Linked DNA regions of Homo sapiens: region 1 is linked to region 2. Evidence: promoter capture Hi-C in 16 types of primary human blood cells and fetal thymus (Javierre and others, 2016). All regions are on one chromosome and are shown on one strand. Each heading gives the region's core, a stretch centred on a gene start or on the middle of the fragment in contact. The rest is flanking DNA. Distances are from core to core; before and after follow the strand shown.

Region 1 (5,699 bases), core at 274-2,773, 400 kb after region 2:
TGTTCACACAGTAGGGACAAGTTTTTGTGCCAGTAGAGTTCAGAAGCTAATTTTCAGTGGCAGTCTTGTAAAGTTATACCAAATATATTTGGAACAGTGTTGTTAATATAGAAATAATAACACTTATTTGAAGAACATTCATTTTTTGAATATTTGCCATGTTATACTTTTGTATTATTTTAGAACTCAATTTTGCCTAAAAAATCAAGTATTTTCTAATTATAAAAATTGTCAGGCTGCAAAATGCAGTTCTAAAGTAATACATGTGCCAAATGTACAGAGGAAGTATAGTAGTAAAAAAAATACCACCTTTCAGTGTTATTCTTGAAATTTAAAAATTAATTGATATCCTCTGGTATCTGTAATGTTTCATTTAGAAGGCTAGCATTTCACAAACACCATTGTCAGAAGATGATCTACTTTGGAGACAATAATTGCTTTCTCTTTAAGGTACCCTGCAATGCAAAACTGTAAGTGTAGAAAGCTAACATTTATACAGAAAAGGAAATGTCAGTCTTTCCTCCAAATATATACGTTGTTGTGTAGTGTCATTTTAAACATGAATATATTTTATACATAGAAGTTGAGAAAAAAAACTTGACGCTTTGAGGACACACTTAATATCATGTCTCATATGTTATTCTAAAAAGCAATCACATGTTTACAAGCAGACATAAAAGCTTAGCTTTAAAAATACCCATAGAATTGATTCTTAAGCAGTCTGTGCTACAGTTATAACAAGTATTTAAAATACTTTTGATAACATTTCCTTTTGCTTGCACTATAGTCAGCTTAATTGAATGACCGTTTTTGCGCCATAAGAATAAACAGAAACTTGGCCGGGGCATGGTGGCTCACACCTGTAATCCCAGGACTTTGGGAGGCCGAGGTGGGTGGATCACGTGGTCAGGCGTTCAACACTAGCCTGGCCAACATAGTGAAACCCTGTCTCTACTAAAAATACAAAAATTAGCCGGGCATAGTGGCGGACGCCTGTAGTTCCAGCTACTCGGGAGACTGAGGCAGGATAATGGCGTGAACCCGGGAGGCGGGGCTTGCAGTGAGCCGAGATCGTGTCACTGCACTCCAGCCTGGGCGACAGAGCGAGACTCCGTCTCAGGAAAAAAAAAAAGAGAGAGACAGAAACTTTAATTCTCTCTATATCAATACCAGAACAAACATAAATAATAAAAACAATAACCTCTTAATCCTATTTTTTAATGTTTACTTTGTAATGGTGCTAATGATACCTTGATACTCTCTACATTTCCAAAATAATTATGTAACAATAGCCAACCAATGTTGTGAGCAAAATGTCTCATTTAGACTTCTCAGCTACCTAACAAAATGCTTACAATTTATCTACTACTTAATAACTTGCCTTGACTAAACAGGCTTCTCTCTTTCCCACAGAACCTTGAACTTTTTTCACTTGCCCGTAAGTTTAAATAAGCACAAATGTGCAGAATACAGCCTACCCTCACCATTAAATGCCCTTTTCAAAAACTTCTGACCAGAGGGAAACATTTCCTATTAGAACACCTCAATCATTCTTTCCATTCATTACACTGTTCCTGTCCCCAAAACTTCTGCTAGTCCTTCTTACATGTCCTTATAAAAAGGGACCTTTTTCTGTTTAATATTGAAATGATTGCAGATCTTGTGGTCAGAGCTTTCTCTCTATTACCACAGCCACTTATTTAAGTATTTATTTTTATTTATTTATTTATTTTTTTGAGATGGAGTCTTGCTCTGTCACCCAGGCTGGAGTACAGTGCTGTGATCTCAGCTCACTGCAACCTCTGCCTCCAGGGTTCAAGTGATTCTCCTGCCTCAGCCTCTCTAATAGATGGGATTACAGGCATGTGCTACCACACCTGGCTAACTTTTGTATTTTTAGTAGAGATGGGGTTTCACCGTGTTGGCCAGGATAGTGTTGATCTCTTGACCTTGTGATCTGCCTGCCTTAGCCTCCCAAAGTTCTGGGATTACAGGTGTGAGCCACCGCTCCCAGCCAAAATTTTCTGTTGAATATTGAGGTGATTGCAGATCTTGTTGTCAGAGCTTTCTCTCTATTACCACAGCCTTTTAAAATAAAATTTATCTTTACTTAAGTCCAGGATTGTTTTTATTTGTCATATTTACTGTTGTTATCATTATTCTTAATTTTTAACAATAGAAAACTGCATATTACAGAAATTAATTTAGCAAGTATTACATGCATAATAATGTTGATGCTAGAATTTTAATATAGGTCTGTATCACACAGATTTCCACTCATCATATAGGCTATTATACTGCCTCAAATGTGATAATATTTATTAGAAAGAGTTATGTGCTTTAAAACACTATGCAGCATTTTCCTTTAAGCTTTTACTATATTCACCACCCTTGTTAATTGTGGAAATGGGTCTTACCAAGCCACCATTGAGTAGAATTGTTAGGCATATATAATTTTTTGGGCACTTGACCACATGTGTTGATAGTATTCAAATAGTAGAGACCATGTTCCTCTGACACTCAGTGTACAAATACTCTCTTGGCTCTCTGGCAGACGTGTCTGTGATACCCCATCCTCAACAGGGAGGGTGGTTTGGGTTGAGCCCTTCATCTGGCCCCCCACCTGGCATTTCCTCCCTCATATCCCTAAAATGTGATCTAATAATCACACTCCAAAAATGTATTAAAACTTAGGAGACTGGAAGGACACAATTCTTAAATCCAAATTAATGAACTTAAATCCCATTGGATGAAATTTCAGGAATTTGAGCAAGTAAGGCTTCTTAGAAATGAGAGTCTTCTATTTCCTCAGTTCAAATTATACTACAGAAGTGAAAAAAAAGTCAAATTATCTGTAGTCTTTGCTTAAGCATCGGTCTCCAAAATCCTACTACTTTGCACTTTTATTGCAGGCTAAGTGAATTTGTGCCTCTCGGTTTTTCAGCTGTATAAGAAACCAGCAAAGATAAATTCCCTTCTATGGGAAACTTTAGGATAATTTATGATCACCATTTTTGTTGCTGATTGTTGTTTAATATATTTGCCTACAAAAGAATTACATTTTTATGAATAAGTCATTAAAAATCTTTGTATAACAGTTCAAAATATGCTAGCTGATGAAATTATTTATCAGTCTAAAACCACATGGTTCCCTATGAGTGCTGTTTTCATGATGTAAACCATGTTATATGTAGTCTGAGCTTCCTTTAGTAAAATAGGAGATTTGGGCACAAAAAGAGGGAGATATACCTTAACAACAAAATAAAAATAATTTTGGCATTCTGAGGTTAAGGTGCTAACTACAGTTATTGAGCCTTTCCACAAGTAAGAGAACTGAGCATCTATTTTTACTCTGGGATAGAGAGGCAGTCATTGATGTATGACTATGTATAAGGATTAGCAATGGGAAACTACTTTTTCAGGTTATGCAAAAAAAAAAAATCAAGCATAAGTTAATGGAAACTCTATTGCCATTGTGTTGTGCCCCTTACTTTGAAATGTGTATTGGTATTCTCCAAAAGTTGAGCGTGGTCAATAAACTATGGAATTATGAAGTATCTTTGGTAAAAGTTTTGCTAAAATTAATATAAACAACTGAAGTGCAAAAAAACAAGTTAAATGAAGAGAAACAGGGAAAAAAGGTGAGAAATGAAGCATTCAGTGGTGGAATTTCAGCTAATTAATAACAGCTTCTTTAGGCTGATTTTATTATCCATTGAAACAGACAATTAAACTTTGCAACTTGAAATAAATTTAGGTTTAAAAATCTGAGTCAAATTTTTGAAAAAATATATATTATATAAACTCTTTGTCGTCTCAAAAAAGAGCACATGTATAATAAGTATATATCTATACCCATATACTTCTGTATATAATGTAGATATATATGATTTCATAAATTAAAATAATATATATCTATACATTGTTGATAATCTAGCTTTAACTATATTAATGTAAGAAATTATTTTTAATTTGAAAAAGTTGTGGCTCTATATTGAATATTGAAAAAATACATAGTTGTGCCTTACCTAACAATGGAGATACACCCTGAGAAATGCATAGTTAGGTGATTTCATTATTGTGTGAATGTCATAGAATGCACATACACAAACTTAGATTGTACAGTCAACTGCACACCTAGGCTATATAGCCTTTTGCTCCTAGGCTACACACCTGTACAGCATGTTACTACATGGAATATTTTAGGCAGTTGTAACATAATGGTAAATATTCATGTATCTAAACATATCTAAACATATAAAAGATACAGTAACAATATAGTATGAATGATTTTAAAAATGATACACATACATAAAACAGCTCCATTATAATATTATGGGACCACTGTTGGGTATGTGGTCTATCATAGACTGAAACGTCATTATGCAGCACAGGAAAGTATCTTTTCTAATTTTACTTTAAATTTTTTTCCCTATTTTTAATATCTCCTACTATCATAGTTTCCCCTTCTCATACTCACCTCCTTTAAAAACTATTATTTCACTGGAATTCTAAATTTAATATTTATAAATTTACCAAGTCCTACTTCTTCAGCAGAACGAGAGAAAAATATTTTCAGGAATCACATCTGTAATCTGTCTTCAAGTTTTTCTGTGGAACCCCTATTTTGAGTGAGCGGTGCTTATTTTAAACATTTTGGAACTAATTCAAGAGGCAATATGTGGCAGCTTACTTGTCCAAGATCAGATCATTCATAGTATGTGTAAAATTAGAAAAAATAGCAAATTCAGTGTTTATGGAAAATAAATTAAACATCTTTTTATTGTCTCTAGATTACTGTTTGTTTCTTTTCAGTTCTTGGTTAGGTATTAGGAAGGATTCACATGCCACTAACAAAAACAGATAATGTAGGTATAGACAATGTATAAAATGTGAATAAAGGTATTAAACATATATACAATGACTTGTATTTTGACAGATTTACTATAAGGTTGATAAAGAACTCATAGGTACATCTACCCAGACAGCAGTTGGAAATACCAGCTTATAGTTCAGGAGATAATTTTCTTCCATAAATGTTAAATTTGGGAATTGCATATTTGGTCAGTAAGGCTTTATTGCATGTTTATCACCATTTTATATACTAGAGATAAAGCTGCATTGAGGTTTGACAATCTTTCTCTGATTCTAGGGAATTGAAATTAATATATATATACAAATGAAAAGATAAATACATTAAAAGGTGAAGTAATTAAAATTATATAATTAGATGAAACAAGTTATCTGTTAAAGAGTGACTGGGCAAGGAAAGAGTTTTGTTTGGGTGGCCAATAACTTCTTTCTACTTTCTGTCTAAAAGATGACTTTTCAATAGAGATCCAGCTGTGTGAAGAATTAGGAAAAATATATTAAAATTAAAAAAAATATATGATAGGAAGAATTCAAAATGGCCCCAAGAGCCCTGCCCCATTATATACATGCCCTGCATAACCCTGGGAATGTGAATAAAATAGATTTTATTCAGGTAATTAGGTTTATTTATGGCACCATTGATTTTTAAAAGGTAGATTATGTGGGTAGGACTGGTCTAACTGCATAAACCTTTTAAATCTTGGTCTGGAGGTCAGATATAAAGGAATTGAAAGATTGAATCAAGAGAAGGATTCCATGATTCATTATTATATTTGAAGTTGGAGGGAGTCATATGGCAAGGAATGTGAGCAAATTCTTGGAGTTGA
Region 2 (5,932 bases), core at 2,094-4,593:
GGAAAGACGCTCTGGCGTGGGGTGCGCGACGCCGCACCCGGTCTCCCACCTGCTGCCTACCCAGAGATCTGTGCCTTCGCGGTACCTTCGCTGCACGGTGTGTGTTCCCCTGGGATCCACTGACAAGCAGCGTGGGAAAACATCCCATGGATGTCTCTTTACATGGGCGGGACGCTTAAGCACGACTTGGAGATTCACAGTTTCTATCTGGGTGAGACCTAAACAGACACGCTGCAGCTGGAGGCATTTCAGAAACCTCTGCCTGTGTGTGTGTGTGCGTGTGTACCTGTGTGGGGGGTGCGGGGGAGGGGAGTTCAGTTTGAAATAGGCATGGATCAAGTCTAGGCAGCACCTGCCCTGTCCCACGCCTCAGTTTGGTGCTCTCCACAGCCTTTTATTTCACATGACAGTGGAAATGAAATGCCAAGGAAAGGTTGTTTTCCTTTTCAGCCCCACCCGAGTGGTTCAGGCCTACCTAAGACCACTTTATCTTACACTCCGAGGCGTTTCCTCCCACTAAGCCTCTTTGTCATTGCTGTTGAACGCAAAGGTGAGATGGTGGAGGGATGAAAACTGTAGGCAGATGGTGTAATTCTCGTGGCTAGAGCTGTTCACGTGGAAAACTGCCTGCCTCGGACTTCCTGGACCCTCACGCTAGTCTAGATTAGAACCTGCAAAATCCTTACAACGGCTCCCCAGTCTGAGGTTTTTCATGGACCTCACATTCCAGAAGAAAGTGTAGAAGACAAAAGCGAGCATAGACATTGGGGCAAACAATGTTTAAGGCATTGCATCAATCTTGGCTTTAGGAAAGCCTTGAGACAGGTGAAATTAAAATAAAATGAGGAAAGGGAGAGTAAAAAGCAACTATCAAAATTGGCATCATTCGGAGATTGACAGCAGGTCTAAAACATAAAACCTATGCAAATTTCTCAGAATTTGGGGACAGTATTCCAAGTCGTAAAATGTAGGAGATGCCTTCCAAGTGCCCGATGAGTGACAATAACTTTATTGACATTGAAAAAAAATGTTTTTTACGTATAGTCTGTAGAATATTGATTTTGCACAGGATCAAAGAAGGCTATGACATACTCTTCCTTCTCAATATCTCCAAAGCTAAACCGATTATATCAGTCCAAAGTAAATTAACGCGCCTTTCCTTTCTATCGGCGCATCTCATTCGGAAAATACGGTAGGTGCGGGCAGCCGGGGCTCTAATTGCAGGCGGCGCGGATCAGCGTTAGTCAGGCTGTAATGCTCGCCCCGCTTCGGAGACTTCCCTCCCCCTCATCTGCCCCCGAATGTGTTTTGGCTCAACAGGTATCACATGAAAACTCGCACTTAAACCCTGGTCATCTTCTCACAGGAGCCACCCTTACATTTTTCTGCCAGGGCTGCTGCTGGCTATTCGCGCCTCCCCCACGCGAAGCGCGCGTCTAGCAGGCAGCCCCAGGGCCATCCATTAACCACCAACTCCCAGTGGCAGGCGAACTAAGCATAAATGTGTGGCTCCTCACCCGTCGAGCCAGCGACAAAGAAACCTTGTAAGCAACCTGAGCCGTGCTTTGTACATTTGGCAGTGTAGTTGTGCCACTTAGGACAAGCTTTTCGGCTCAGAGCTGCTCTGAGGCCCCAGAGAGAAAAGAAAAATCAAGCTTCAAGGAGCAGGTTGGGATTACAAGGCAGTTGCTGCCACAGAGACCGGGGCGACTGACTTCCTGGCATTTTGGGATGTAAATTAAAATTCTAGACATGCCACCCATCATTGGTTATAGTAGAGGGAAAGGTAACCTCTCCAGCTCCCTCCTCCCAAAACATGAATTATCATTTCCACTGAATGCAAATGAGCTGCCTTCCGTGGGGGGACAGCCAGCTGCAAGCTGGACAATAAACTGTTTCATAGAGACGCGGCCCGATTGCAGTTCAGAGAGGCACTCCTTTACAAAGGAAGAAGCGTCCAGTTTGTGTTGACAGCCCTGGCGCGCCTGGGCCAAAACAGCACCCCCTTTCCCGCGATCCCCCGCCCCCCCGCGACACACAGACACCCGGGATTTGAAACTAGCTTCACTGAAAGCGGCATCCATAGCGTCTATTCGAGCTGCCATGAGTATGGAGAGGTGATTGTTCAAAAAATGATGGCATGAGTCATAAACACCTCCTGAGTATTCTTTGCAGCAATTAATGGGCAGCAGGGTGCCGGAGAAGTTGTGGAAGAGAGCTATGGATCTATTTTCTCCCTAAGGACAGCTCTTTTTCCCATGATCCTGACTGTCCCTTGCCTTCCTGCTTGGGAATACATTTTTACATCCCACCTACCCCCTCCCCTATCTGTGCATGTGACACTCACTCTACCTGTCTGAACGCTGAGACTTGCTGGGGATTTTCTTTTGGTCGTCAGCTAATGACTTTCCTCCTACCTCATTCATCCCTTAAGGTGGTTCTTTACACTTCATGGCATTTCAGACCCTTCGAAAGCCTCATTTTTTGCCAAACCTCTACCACAGGTCCTAGGGAAGCTCCCCTACATTTAACATTGCATAGAAGCCCAATTTACATACATATGCATGCAGACATTCATGTTGATGTGGCAGTGCTTGGAAGATCCCTGTGCCCTAATGCATTTAAAATCAACACATTCCTAGCACGTCGATAACTTTCTTCCCTGAAAGGGTTAAAAAGCATTTAGACCAGCGTCTTTAATATATATATTCCACCCAAAGCCTCAAGCCCTAGTGATCTGACAAGAAATCAAGGTAATCCTCACCACTAAGAAAAGTCTTGCAGAGGAATTCTGCCTGGATATCCACTAGTTAGAGGCTATACTAACCAACTCACGTATTCGTTTGAGCATACTGCAAGAATATTTATTGAGCACAAGCTCAATCACCGCATTGAACGCCAAATCTGGCAAGCAAAATGCATTTCCTATCTGAGGGGGGGAGAACGAGCTGTGAATCAACTCCTTTAGTATTATCAGATTATTTTATCGGTGCAAATTGCAAAGTAAGCTGCCAGCCTCTCTCCATCTACAAGTCAGCCCACCTCCATCCAAAGCGGAGGGGACCCCCAAAGCAGACCTACCTTTCACACAAGACACCGTCAATAAAAAGACGAGGTTCCAAAACGTAAATCCACTTTTAATCCCCATTTTCTTCATCAGGATGAAGTCTAGGCGGCCACATTTAGCGCATCTTCGCTTGCCAGGCTCCCAGGGTTTGGATTCCTTTGCTCGGCTTTCCCCTTTGCGGATCCCTTTCATATTATTCGCGAGCTCCTAATTCCTGCTCCTCAGCCCGGCGCAGTGGAGTTGTTGCTGTTGTTGGTGCGCGGTCACAGCTCGGAGTGAATGGTGTTTCTGGGATACCACAGCAACCTTGACGAGGACTCAACCATCTCTCCAACGGGGGCACAAAGTCTCCGCTACTCTGGATTCTGTCTTTTCTTGTGCGTTTTTTCCCCTCCACCAAAATCTACCCCAATTCTGGCTCGTTATAGCAACCACCAGAAACCACTAGTGAGCCTCTTAAAGCCCACCTCTGCTCTCTGATAAACTCCACACAATATTTGAAATTAAGGGGCTTGCTTTTTTTCCCCGAATAGATCAATTCTGCCTGTAAAAGCAGCCCAAGAAATAATGTTAGTGAGCTCTCCGTTGCAGGCTGCGAATACAGAAGCATGTCAAAGGAATATTTTAATCGGAGGATCTGTGTTGCTTTTGGGGAAACCGTGACGATAATGAATCGGGCTCCATCGATGCCCACGTCGTTATAATGGGACATGTGTTACTACTGTAGTTGCAGTATATTTCAGGCAGGCTTCTCCCATTTATTATCCTGTGATTTAATTGAAAAAGGAAATCACAGAGAATTTTCTCAATAAATTCTGCCTTCACACGGAAAAGAATGTATTTGAACACATGTATTTACATACTCAAATAACTACGTGTAAACCCTTCACCGGGTTTTTATGATTCGGGAAACGGATTTCATCCGTGGCCTGGGCGGGGGTGGGGTGGGGAGGGAAGTCAATGTCGTTTCCTCAAATAGTTCTCCCTTTCATCCTCCCAACCCCCTTTTCAGTTTGTGTGTGCCGCAGTTAAACTACTTTATCTGTGGTAGTTATCTAGAACAAACCCATTTGTCTTAATTCTGAATCGGTACCAAATATGTAAATAGGAGGTTTCTTTCAAAACGAAAAATGTATGTATCTATACATCTGGATCTGCTTCCCCCATGCACCACGCAAGGGTTAAGATTGCACAAGGGAAGAGTTCTTGCGCCATCTACTGGCCGTCTCCGAGCCGCCCGTTCTTCCTTCGCATGTATAAGGGACCCTGTTTTTGCCATCCCTTGGTGTCAGGGGAGCTGTGTCCCCGGGACCAGTATGTCGTGCTCCTTGATTTTTTTCGACCACGGTCCTGGCCCAAATCTTTCAATGAACAAGTTCCTTAGATTAGGCAACTGATTGGTGATCTGACCTTTTCGGGAATCTGGTCCCCTCTCAGCAGTGGGGAGTGCCACAGCGCTAGTTCTGAAACAGGATATTGCTGTTGCGTGTGGCTCCATTTAACTGCCTCAGGCTATCATGGGCGTGAGCGTCTATCAACAAGGCTTAGTCTAGAGGACTGCCCAACTTGAGTTTGCAGCTCCCTGCACTGTGCACAAATAATGGGTTTGGTCCCGTGCACCACAGCATTACCCTGGCCAGCTTTGTCCCTTGGCTCGCGTTGGAGCTGCCCGCTCAGCAGAGGAAGGCGTTAGAATCTGGAAGGAGTTCCGCTCTGGGAAGTGGGCACACTGCGAGTGTCCATAGGTTTGAGTGGCGAGTGAGTTCAATCTGCAGGCGTAGGAAGGCTTCTGATCTCTCGGGGTACGTGGCATTGTGTGTGGGCCTGTGATTCTCCCAGTTCGTGTGTGTGTGTGTGTGTGTGTGTGTGTGTCTGCGCGCGCGAGAGCATAAACGCGCTGTAGTGAGAGGTAAGTGTGCGTGTTTATGAAAGATACAAAGAGTGATTTGCCATGCGTAGGTGTTTTCCCAAGTGTATTTTTGCAGTACATATGCGTGTGCACGCCTGTGTGTGTTTGTGTGTTAGAGAGGGATTTCTGTCCTGGGTAGGGAGCTGTAGCAAAAGGTAAAAGCTGTAGACGCCCAGCTGACCTCATTAAATTCAGAGAGATACTTTAAGAGCCCTCAGGCAGAACATTGTCCCTTCTTTTCAGTGCTCTCTTTCATTGTCTGCATATGCAGGTTTCGAAGGGGAGTGGGCAACAAGGTAGGGACTAGACAGAGACTGGGAGGATCAACATGGAAAACGACATTAGCCTGCTAAGCCACCTTGGCAGCTGCTCTGGCATTGATTTCAGTCAAGATGTCAGCGTGTGGTGTTGCTGCTGTTGCCTTTGCTGGGCTGGACAACCAGTTAGAGATGTAAACAGGCCCTTGGACTTAATGAGGATGCTCAGCAAAAATCCTCCTTACCAAGTGTGCAGAGGTTAGTCACCTCAACTGAATTTACTTCTTATTAAAAGAAACAAAAATATTGGGTTTTATGCAATCTATTTGAACACATAACACATGGCTATACATCCAGACAGGAGGACTTCATGCCAAAAAAGCAAACAAACAAACCCCCCCGCAAAAAACCCTTTCTCAAAAGACAGGGTATTTTAACAGTAATTATTGTGCACAAAGTAAGTAAATTTTGATTAAAAGACCATAAAGATTACTAGTAAGATACCAATTTCTGATATTTATTTTCAAACACATGGCTAATCCTGTAATCCAATTATCTTTCCCTAAATGAATCCTGCCTATCATTTCATGTGAGATTGTTAAAAGATTTATCTGGAATCTCATAATATATTGAACAATACTATAATATCTAGTTTCTACAGCTCACAATAAATCACAAACCATTTTCACCTGTGTCTTC

What was found. The method cuts DNA at HindIII sites, captures the fragments that hold promoters and counts their contacts. A CHiCAGO score of 5 or more calls a contact.
Region 1: a fragment that was not itself captured here is called in contact with the fragment with the promoter of CSMD3 in region 2 in 1 of 17 cell types (total B cells); the score reaches 5.2 in total B cells.

What each region holds. Positions count from the first base shown.
Region 1 is chr8:113,837,085-113,842,783 of GRCh38, forward strand. No RefSeq gene overlaps it. Among named protein-coding and RNA genes, the nearest start is that of CSMD3, 400 kb to the left of the region's middle. The HindIII fragment of the contact is 1,690 bases long and covers 679-2,368 here.
Region 2 is chr8:113,433,596-113,439,527 of GRCh38, forward strand. It overlaps CSMD3 (CUB and Sushi multiple domains 3), which reads right to left and starts at 3,344. Exons shown (of 71, transcript NM_198123.2): 1 at 3,082-3,344. The coding sequence starts at 3,259. RefSeq lists enhancers at 1,928-2,438, 4,216-4,265, 4,278-4,778. The HindIII fragment of the contact is 6,354 bases long and covers 1,654-5,932 here.